3 separate regions of the Homo sapiens genome follow, and all the other regions are linked to region 1. The links are contacts of gene promoters, found by promoter capture Hi-C in human tissues and cell types (Jung and others, 2019). All regions are on one chromosome and are shown on one strand. Each heading gives the region's core, a stretch centred on a gene start or on the middle of the fragment in contact. The rest is flanking DNA. Distances are from core to core; before and after follow the strand shown.

Region 1 (3,281 bases), core at 1-2,500:
AGTCCCTTCCATCTACAAAAACTAGAGAACGTTTTGTGTTAAGCTGACCTCATTAAGGGAATCACGTATAAAGGAGGTTCCTCTTATCTACTCAAGGTGTGTTTGTGTGCTTTTCCTAAACATTTTTATCTAGTTGAGGATTCAAAACACAACCCGCAAAGGAAATGCTCTTTGAAAATTAAAAAAAAAAAAAAAGTGAACATGAAAAACTGCAAACACGTGGTTAAAAAAAGAAAGACAATCTCTCGACAGTCTCCAGTAATGCAGAAAAAGATTTCACTGACAAAATTAAATAGTTCATGACCACCACAAACACCTTCCGCTGGTTCACAGTAACCCCTGACATTCTCCAAGGAGAAAAATTCAGGGATAATGAGGTCATAATCCCAGCGGAGAGGAGACGAGCTTGAAAACACCTTTACATTCCGGAACGCACGGAAAAGTTCCAGGCTCTCAAAGCGTGCGCGACACCAACACCCCCCGACGCCCACACCCACGCGCGCTCGGTGCCCAGTTCCCCGGTGCCCAATTCCCCAGCGTCCACAGAAATAACACCAAGCTCCCGGTGGGTGAAAGAGTTACCGTAAGCCAGAGGCTGCAACCTCAAATACCCACTTTCTGGGCGATTCTCCAACGAGGCACTCAACCTCCTAGCGTGTCCGCCTTGGGGGGGATTCCTCGCTTATCCCCTTTCTTAGCACACAGGCGCCCCGATTTACTCTCCCCCTCTGATATTAAGGTCATGTTCACGCCGGCGGGCGTCGCTTCCCGCCTCCCACTTCAAAGGCCCGGGCGCATGCCGCACGCCGCGCTCGAACCACCACAAAGGAGCCAGTCGCAGCCGTGCCCCCCGGACCTCCAACCGGGGACTGCCGGGGAGCGGCCTCGAAGCCCGAGGCCGCCACGGGAGACGCGGAGGGGGCCGGGCCGAGCGGGCGGAGAGGCCACGCTCCACTTCCGAAGTGCCCCAGGCTCGGACAGTGCCCACCTCCGCGGCGGGAGCCGGCCGGGCAGGGAGGCGGGTCAGCGGCCTGGGGGAGGATAGGCGTCCGCAGCGTGCGTCCCGGAGTTGGGGTCGCGGCGGGCGGGGAACCGCCACGTCGCCATCTGGCTGGCCCGCGGGACGGCCCCGCCGCCCGGGCCTTGGGAGCTTGCCTGGGAACAGGGAAGGCGAGGGGGCCGCGCTCCAGCCTCACCTCCTCGCGCCTCGGCCCCGACCGCCGCCATCTTGTAGAGCTTTCATTCAAACTGGCGCGGTCTGACGGGATAGCTCAGCTGGCCCGACGCCCCGCCCCTGGCCGGCCCGCGCGGGACTTGGGGGCCGGGGCTTGTTGGGGGACGGAACCCGCACGGCGTCCTGACGTCACTGGCGGCCGACCCCCCGCCGCGGCGGCCAGCGCGCCTGCGCCCCAAAGCTAGGCCCGGCCCCAAGCGCGAGGAGCGGGGCGGGGCGAGCGCGCGTGCTCCCGGATCCTCGGCAGTGTCCGGCGCCCCCTTCCCTTCGCCAGGCCCGTTTGGCGCCTTCACTCGGGAAGACGTCGGCCAGGACTTTGCGCTTTGGAGACGTCTTACTTCGGCAGCACTCGCACACTGCGAGATCCGACACGGGCAGCGGGGACCTAGGGAGCCGGGGACGCTGCCTGTCGGGTACGGTTCCGCAGCTACCGCAGCCCCGTGGGCCATGGTTAGTCTCCCCCCGACACCGCTCCCTCTAGAGCTCCGGGCTTCGGAAGCGGCTGCACGTGGGCATGGCTGGAGAGGTTCCGCTGGCTTGGGGCAGTCGCCGGGATTCCGACTGGTTGGTGTGGGGTGTGGCCTGTGCTATCCAGCTCCCAGCTGATCCTAATGTGCGGCACAGCGGAAACCACCGGTCCACATCAGTGCTTCTCACTTAAAGGGGCTTACGAATCGTCGGGGGTGGGGGAGCTGGACTTGGAATTTTTTAAGAGATGAGGTCTCACTCTGTCACCCAGGCTGGAGTGCAGTGGCGCGATTACGGCTCACTGCAGACTAGACCTCCTGGGCTCAACTTTAATGTAAATTGGGATTGGGTAGGTCTGTAAGGGGACCCGAGCTCCCCTCCCATGTTGTTGCCAAGCTCCTGAGCTCGGCCTGGTGGCGGGTGGGGGCCGGGAGGAGAAGGACACGTTAGTAAGGAAGCTGCAGGACGACTCCAGGGGCCTCCCACCTGGTCTCCACCCCCCTCCCCCACCCATTCTTGACGCTGCATCCATGATTGTTCTAAACAACCTAAAGCAGAAATCTTAGAGCAAATAACGAAAACTGGCAGAAGGCCATTTGATATCTCCTTAAAAAATTCATGTAAAAAATTACATAAACGTTTCAAAGCAGTATGTATAAATTTGAAATACTGGAAATGAACGCAGACCATTAAAGGAATAGTTAATTATTTGATTCCATTATGAAATACTGTCTAGCCGTCTTAAAAAGGTGTTCATGAAGCTTTTAGTATTCAGCAAAACCAAAACAAATCCCCCTGAAATATAGTTTTAACTATGGAAGAAAAAAATGTATAGGAAAATAACGAAATAGCCTTTTCGGAGTGATTTTCTTTTTAACTTCTCGTTTTTAAATATTTAATCATTTTCTACGATGGGAAACACCACTTCCTCACACACACTCATGCTCCCAGACTTTATTTAGCTACAAACGGCATCATAATACAAATACTGTTCTGCAGTCCGTGTGTGTTTCAATGCAACTGCATTTCTCAGACATGTTTCTAAGATTTGAGTCCTTAGTAAATTTTGTATTCCATATCTCATTACCTTGAGATAAGGAATAAAAGGCCCTGTCCAACCCTGTCACCTGGAAGAGCATCCAGGCCCTTTAAGGCTTAGTCTATCTAGGATTATGCCTTCAGACTTGGATACAGCCTCCCGTCCTAACCGGCCCCTGTATTCATTACCTCTCCTGTATGTTTTCAGAGCCCACCAAGGAGCGGCCATCGCTACTCACTGGCCACTCTTGAATCCTTTTTGGCTCCTTTTCCTCAGTCCAACCTGGGTTCCTCAGAGAAGAGACTGTAGTCCTGGGACTGCATTTCTTTTCCGCCCTCTCCCTATGTGACTGCCCCAATTCCCATGGATTTAAATAGCATCTTGACACACAAGATGCCTCACTTATCGTCTCCGGCCCTGGCCTCTGCCTGAATTCCAGGCTAGAATATCCACAGTGCGTAATGGACATATGCCCTTAGGTGTTGCACAAACATCTCAAATTGAACATATCCGGAAAAATACACTTCTGAACTTCGTAGC
Region 2 (3,281 bases), core at 484-2,983, 490 kb after region 1:
TGGTTTCACTGGGATTCAGAGAGCTGTAGTGGATCAGGCCAGCAGTAGACCACCAAACAGTGACCACGACCTTGTTTTGGTGCAAGATTGCCTTTGGGAAGTGCTTTGCAGCTTCTTCTTGGTCCAGCCACTGAGCTGGTTGTCACTGGTTGTCATATAAGATCCACTTTTCTTGCCTGTCACAAATCTGATCAAGAATTGACTCCTTGCTGTTGTGTAGAATAAGAAAAGATGACACTTTGAAACAATAATTTTTTTGATTTTTGCTCAGCTCATGAGGCACCCACTTACTGAGCTTTTTCATCTTTCCAATTTGCTTCAAATGCCCAATGACTGTAGAATGGTTGTCGTTGAGTTATCAGCAACTTCTCATGTAGTTGTAAGAGGATCAGCTTCTGCGATTGCTCTCAATTGGTCTTTGTCAACTTCCGATGGCTGGCCACGACACTCCTCATCTTCAAGGCTCTCCTCGTCTTTGCAAAACTTCTTGAACCACCACTGCACTATATGTTTTTTAGTACAGTAGGCCAAATACATTGTTGATGTCGCAAGTTGTCGCCGCTGCTTTACAACCCATTTTGAACTCGGATAAGAAAAGCACTTGAATTTGCTTTTTGTCTAACATTATTTCCACAGTCTAAAATAAACATAAAATAAACAGCAAGTAATAAGTCATTAGCCAAAAAACATAAAGCAAGAAATGCCCATTAAAATGATGTATAAGATAACCACATTTATTTAAGAATGTATCCAATATCAAATGTCAAATTCCAACGATGCAAAAACCGCAATTACGTTTGCACCAATCTAATAATTCCAGGTGATCTATGGAGGTGGGACATTGATGTAGAGTTGAGGACGATAACTGGCTTCAGGATTTCTCAAGAAAAGCTTTGAGAGATCTACACCTTGGAAACCCCAGCCCTAGAGGAGTGTTCTTCCAAGACTCCACGAACAGGAAAAAGTCCTGGATAGCAGCTGAGTGCCGCCATATTAACCCTTTGGGATGGGCCCCAGAATCTGTGTTTCCATCCAGTTCCCAGGTGATGTTGACGCTGCTGACCCTGCAAGCAACCTCCGAGGTCTCTCTCCTGGTTTCTCTCTGCTTCCCTCAAATTTCTCACTTCTTCCACGGACACTTATTTTTACCCACACTTGTTATCACTCTCTCCTTTCTACAAATCTACCAGACCCCAACCTTCATCTCAGCTCACAATTTGGTCATTTCTAAAATGAATGAAACAGGCCGGGAGCGGTGGCTCATGCCTGTAATCCCAGCACTTTGGGAGGCCGATGTTCTGTGCTGGAAACACGTGAGAGGAGAAGAAAAGGCACACACACAATACCTTTAAGGGTGAACAACTTTTATCCCTGTAAATGACAATGCAGATATAATAAGCAAACCATATAATAAGCAAACGATATAATAAGCAAGTGATATAATAAGCAAATTGCAATGGGAAGGGGAGAAGGGAAAAGATACTTGCACTCACCAGACTATGGAGGATTCAGCACCAGACCGGGAAGCGACCGCCTGGGCTCCAGAGTCGGCCACTCCTCTGTGCACAGATGAGGAGAGGTCTCATGAAGCTTCGGCGCAGTCTGGGAACCTAGCTCTTTTTGTAGCGAGTTGTTTGGCATGAGGTCCAGTCACGAGGGCTCTTCATTGCTGTGGTCAAGGAACACAAAAAGGTCAACTTATTCTTGTGATTGTCTATTGTTTTTCACTAACTAACATATAGGAATAGATTGAAATAAAGATTTCTCTGAAACAGTGCTGGATGAAAGCCTCAAAGGGCTCATACAACCTGTTCTGGGACTTGGTGTCCATTGGTTATGTCCATGTTCAACTGAGTTCAAATCTAATATTTAACTTTTCCTCCACAGCCGAGGCAGGTGGATCACCTGAGGTCAGTAGTTTGAGACCAGCCTGGCCAACATGGTGAAACCTTGTCTCTACTAAAAATAGAAAAATTAGCCAGGCCTGGTGGCGGGCTCCTGTAATCCTAGCTACTCAGGAGGCTGAGGCACGAGAATCACTTAAACACTGGAGGTGGAGGTTGCAGTGAGCTGAGATAGCTTCACTGCACTCCAGCTTGGATGACAGACTGAGACTCCATCTCAAAAAAATAAATAAATAAAATTTAAAAAACAAAATGAACGAAGCAAAGAAAATATATGCTTTTTGCTTTCCCCATAGCACAGATATTATATCTGGGGCTTAGAGGAGCACGTAGGGCTACCCAGTATCTATAATAGAAAAGAAATCCTTTCTTTTTTTTTTTTTTCTGAGACACTGTCTCGCTCTGTCACCAGGCTGGAGTGCTGGAGTGCGGTGGTGCGATCTCAGCTCACTGCAACCTCCACCTCCCTGGTTCAAGTGATTCTCCTGCCTCGGCCTCCCAAGTACCTGGGATTATAGGCACACACCACCACGCCCAGATAATTTTTGTATTTTTAGTAGAGACAGGGTTTCACCATGTTGGCCAGGATGGTGTCCATCTCCTGACTTCATGATCCGCTTGCCTCAGCCTCCCAAAGTGCTGGGATTACAGGCGTGAGCCACCACGCCTGGCCCCTTTCTTTTTATGTCTTTCTGGTCTCTACTGAGTTTGTTTTAGGCTTATCATTTTCCAATGCTGGAATTGTTTTGTTTCTCAGAAATAGTTTTAACCTAAAACCCATTGGTTATGAAACAAAACTGCATAATGTCTACATGGGCATCCATTCATAGTGAAGTTTCATTGTAGTTAGATCGACTTTAGTGAACCTTTTTTGGATTCATTTGACAATGAGTTTGGATAACTCAGGAAAGGATGTAGAATCAATGATTTATGCATTATAGTCTGAAGTATGTAGCTGAATTTCAGTACTAATAATAGCATAGAATGGTGCTGTCCAAAATGCAACTCACATGTGTAATTTTAGAATTTCTAGTAGTCACATTTAAGAAAAGTAAACAGAAATGGGCGAAATGATTAATAGGGTATTTCATTTAACCTAATATATCCAGAATATTATTTCCACATGAAATCAGTATAAAAATTTTTAACGAGAAATGTACATTTTTTATACTAAATCTTTGAAGTCTAGTGTGCGTTTTGTGCTTACAACACATCTGAATTTGGACGGGCCACCTTTCAAGTGCTAGGTAGCCACATGTGGTTAGTGGCTTCTGAATGAGACAACACAGATATAAAGCATCGTTTTCTACTTTCTCTTTGACTGCCAGGGTTTAAGTAATGTCACTGTAAGGTTAACACAGTTTCAGTATTGTTTAG
Region 3 (3,281 bases), core at 429-2,928, 340 kb before region 1:
AGCCTGGCCAAGATGGTGAAACCCCATCTCTACTTAAAAAAATTAGCCAGGCATGGTGGCGGGCGCCTATAATCCCAGCTACTCAGGAGGCTGAGGCAGGAGAATCACTTAAACCCAGGAGGCAGAGGTTACAATGAGCTGAGATCACACCACTGCACTCTAGCCTGGGTGACAGAGCAAAGACTCCGTCTCAAAAAAAAAAAAAAATTGTTTCTCTGAACAAGTAAGCCAGTATCTAATTGTCAGTTATTTTTCCAATTTTTGTAAACTTTAACCCCCTCCTCGCACTCCATTGAAGTAATTATATCTGAAAGAGAATGGTGTTTCTTGTGAATTTAAGTAACATCACTGTTTTCAAAAACTGGTAAATCTTGGGTTTATCTAGGTCTTAAATTAGGAGATTTGTCCCCTTAAGAAGATTTTTTAAAAAGTCTATGTCTTAGAATGTCAAAAATCAAAAATAAGCAAATGGGTGTCTGTGGTGTTTAATAATCATAGCCATGCTACCCTGAAATAATATGAGGCCAGTTCATTTCGACCCATGTATTCATACACTGCCAGGAAACTCGGACACCAATAAATACCTAAATATTGGAATGTTGGGAGGTTTTTGTTGTCGCTGATCTGTTGTTAGTAACATTAAGATAGATTTGTACTACTACGGAACATAAAATGTGAGTTAAGCTACCTCTTGGGATTTTTTACAACATAAACTTAAAATATTTTTATCTTTGATAACCTTATGTATAAGTTCTAAAGAGATCTCTGGCCACGTAAGGTTAGCTATTTTGAAAAGCCATTGTAGAGAAAGATCTTGTTTTTAAAGATGGATATCATTTTAGTCATATTTGATACCTGTATTAAGTGTTAAAAGTTGCTGACTTTTTTAAGTCACAGGAAATGTATGTCATACATTTAAACTGATTCATTTGGGCTAGGGGCTCTCCAGACGGTAATGATTGACTGCCCGGGAAAAGCGAAAATAAAACTTTGTAGGGTTTTTTTTTTTTTTTTCACTGCAATATAAAATTCCCAGATAGGCCATCTTTCTGAAGGTGAGAGTCCCAGTCATTATATCGTCATGCGTTCATTTTCTTGTATGAAAAGATCATATGGCTGGGCACAGTGGCTCATGCCTATAATCCCAGCACTTTGGTAGGCCGAGGCAGTGGATTGCTCGAACTCAGGAGTTCAAGACCCACCTAGGCAACATAGTGAGAACATTGCCTCTAAAAAAAATTTATAAAAATTAGCCAGGTGTGGTGGTGCGTGCCTGTAGTCCCAGCTATGCTGGAGGCTGAGGCAGGAGGATTGATGCAGCCCAGGAGGTCAAGGCTACAGTAAGCCATGATTGTATCACTGCGCTCCAGCCTGGGTGACAGAATGAGACCCTGTCTCAAAAAAAAAAAAAATTAAAAAGATCATGTATTTCAAATGCGGCACATGCTACCAAGTGAGGCGCACTTCTCCGCTTAGGAGGGGCCCTTGACGTAACCACATCTTGTCTTTGAGTATTCAAAGTTCTCCTGGCTGTGGGAGCTTCCATAATAGTCATGCTAATCACTAATGCAATGCTGGTGGTACCCCAAGTGCATGATCCAAGGGCGTTTTCCTCTGGCCACTGCTCTATGCCCCAGCTAAGAAGAGTAAGCACAAGACACTGCGTTCTCAATGAATGATCCCTCTTTTGAGTTAAAGGTGTTCAAAACTCTAAATGCCATTTTCTGACCTTCTAGGTCCCGTTGTAACACAGGACATTACCACGTATCACACGGTGTTTCTTTTGGCCATTTTAGGAGGAATGGCTTTCATACTTTTGGTTTTGCTGTGTCTCCTTTTATATTATTGCAGGTAAAGTGTTACCATTTTGGCAATATCTTTTTTAATTCACAGTTTCTTGGGCAATTGATACTTAGAAGCATTAATATGGAGGTGGGTTTTTTTTTTAATTTTTCTAAATTGAAGTACTTTTTCTTCCCATGAAAAAGTAAGAACTCACATTTGTGATCTAAGTTGCAACTTAACAAATAGTATGTGTAAAGCATGCTGCGTGGATAACATTGCTTAGAAGGGGAGTTATGAAAAAGAGTTTAACAATAGTCATCTGATTTATTCAGAGTATTCCTGAACGCTGATTAAGAGATGATACTCTGAAGGGCAAAGCAGAACTCTTCTTATTTGGGCCAGGGACGTTGGCTCACACCTGTAATCCCAGCACTTTAGGAGGCCGAGGTGGGCGGATCACTTGAGGTCAGAAGTTCGAGACCAGCCTAGCCAACGTGGTGAAACTCCGTTTCTACCAAAAATACAAAAATTAGCTGGGCATGGTGGCACACGCCTATAATCCCAGCTACTTGGGAGGCTGAGGCAGGAGAATTGCTTGGACCCAGAAGGTGGAGGTTGCAGTGAGCCAAGATTGCACCACTGTACTCCAGCCTGGGCAACAGAGCAAGACTCCATCTCAAAAAAAAAAATTATTCTTATTTAGATGCCGTGTCTGTTTAGTTTGCAAGAATATTTATTGTCAACTCTTGAGTAACCCCTTTGAAATAAGTAACTTGGCTTATAAAAGCCTTTAAGTTTAGCTGTTTTAAAAAGGCATTATAGAGGAAAAATTTTATTTTTAAAAATGCAAAGCATTTTAGTCACGTTTGAGACTCTTTAATAAGTTGTTGACTTTTTTAAGTCATAGAAAAATGAATGTCATACATTTAATTCATTTAGGCAAAGGGCTCTCCAGACAGTAAAAGATGAAATCTCTCGATTATCCTACTCTAATAAGGATAAAATAAGGATAAGGGCCAGGCATGGAGGCCTAGCACTTTGGGAGGCTGAAGGGGGAGGATTGCTTGAGGCCAGGAGTTTAAGACCAGCCTGGGCAACACAGGCCATCTCTACAAAAAAACTAAAAGTCAAAAATTAGCTGGGCATGGTGGCATGTGCCTGCGGTGCCAGCTGCTCGGGAGGCTGAGGTGGGAGGATCACTTGAGCCCATGAGGTCAAGCCTGCAGTGAGCTATGATCATAGCACTGCACTCCAACGTGGGCGACAGAGCAAGCAAGATGCTGTCTCAAAAAAAAAAAAAAAAGACAGGGCGTGGGGTGAGAAGGCTTTTGGCTGCTCCTGACTTGTTTTGTTTTGTCTCTCCCCATGGAAATTGAGAATTAGGATTTTACCTGAAACTTGAAACTTTTTCATTGTGAGAATCACTAATCTTTGGCTTTGGATTGTGTCTTTGGGCGCAGGAGGAAGTGCTTGAAACCTCGTCAGCACCACAGAAA

What was found. Contacts are between HindIII fragments. The study calls those that stand out against the background at their distance.
Region 2: a fragment that was not itself captured here is called in contact with the fragment with the promoter of SUV39H2 in region 1 in 1 of the 25 tissues and cell types used here (dorsolateral prefrontal cortex).
Region 3: a fragment that was not itself captured here is called in contact with the fragment with the promoter of SUV39H2 in region 1 in 1 of the 25 tissues and cell types used here (hippocampus).

The regions. Positions count from the first base shown.
Region 1 is chr10:14,876,835-14,880,115 of GRCh38, reverse strand. SUV39H2 (SUV39H2 histone lysine methyltransferase) reads right to left here and starts at 1,250. Exons shown (of 6, transcript NM_001193424.2): 1 at 1,197-1,250. The coding sequence starts at 1,227. It overlaps SUV39H2-DT (SUV39H2 divergent transcript), which reads left to right and starts at 1,457. Exons shown (of 1, transcript NR_186426.1): 1 at 1,457-3,281. RefSeq lists a silencer at 777-1,516. The HindIII fragment of the contact is 4,398 bases long and covers 1-3,281 here.
Region 2 is chr10:14,386,443-14,389,723 of GRCh38, reverse strand. No RefSeq gene overlaps it. Among named protein-coding and RNA genes, the nearest start is that of MIR4293, 4.8 kb to the right of the region's middle. The HindIII fragment of the contact is 4,354 bases long and covers 1-3,281 here.
Region 3 is chr10:15,214,566-15,217,846 of GRCh38, reverse strand. FAM171A1 (family with sequence similarity 171 member A1) reads left to right here. Exons shown (of 8, transcript NM_001010924.2): 7 at 1,737-1,851; 8 at 3,246-3,281. The region is part of intron 1 of FAM171A1-AS1 (FAM171A1 antisense RNA 1); the gene reads right to left. Among named protein-coding and RNA genes, the nearest start is that of FAM171A1-AS1, 7.6 kb to the right of the region's middle. The HindIII fragment of the contact is 7,240 bases long and covers 1-3,281 here.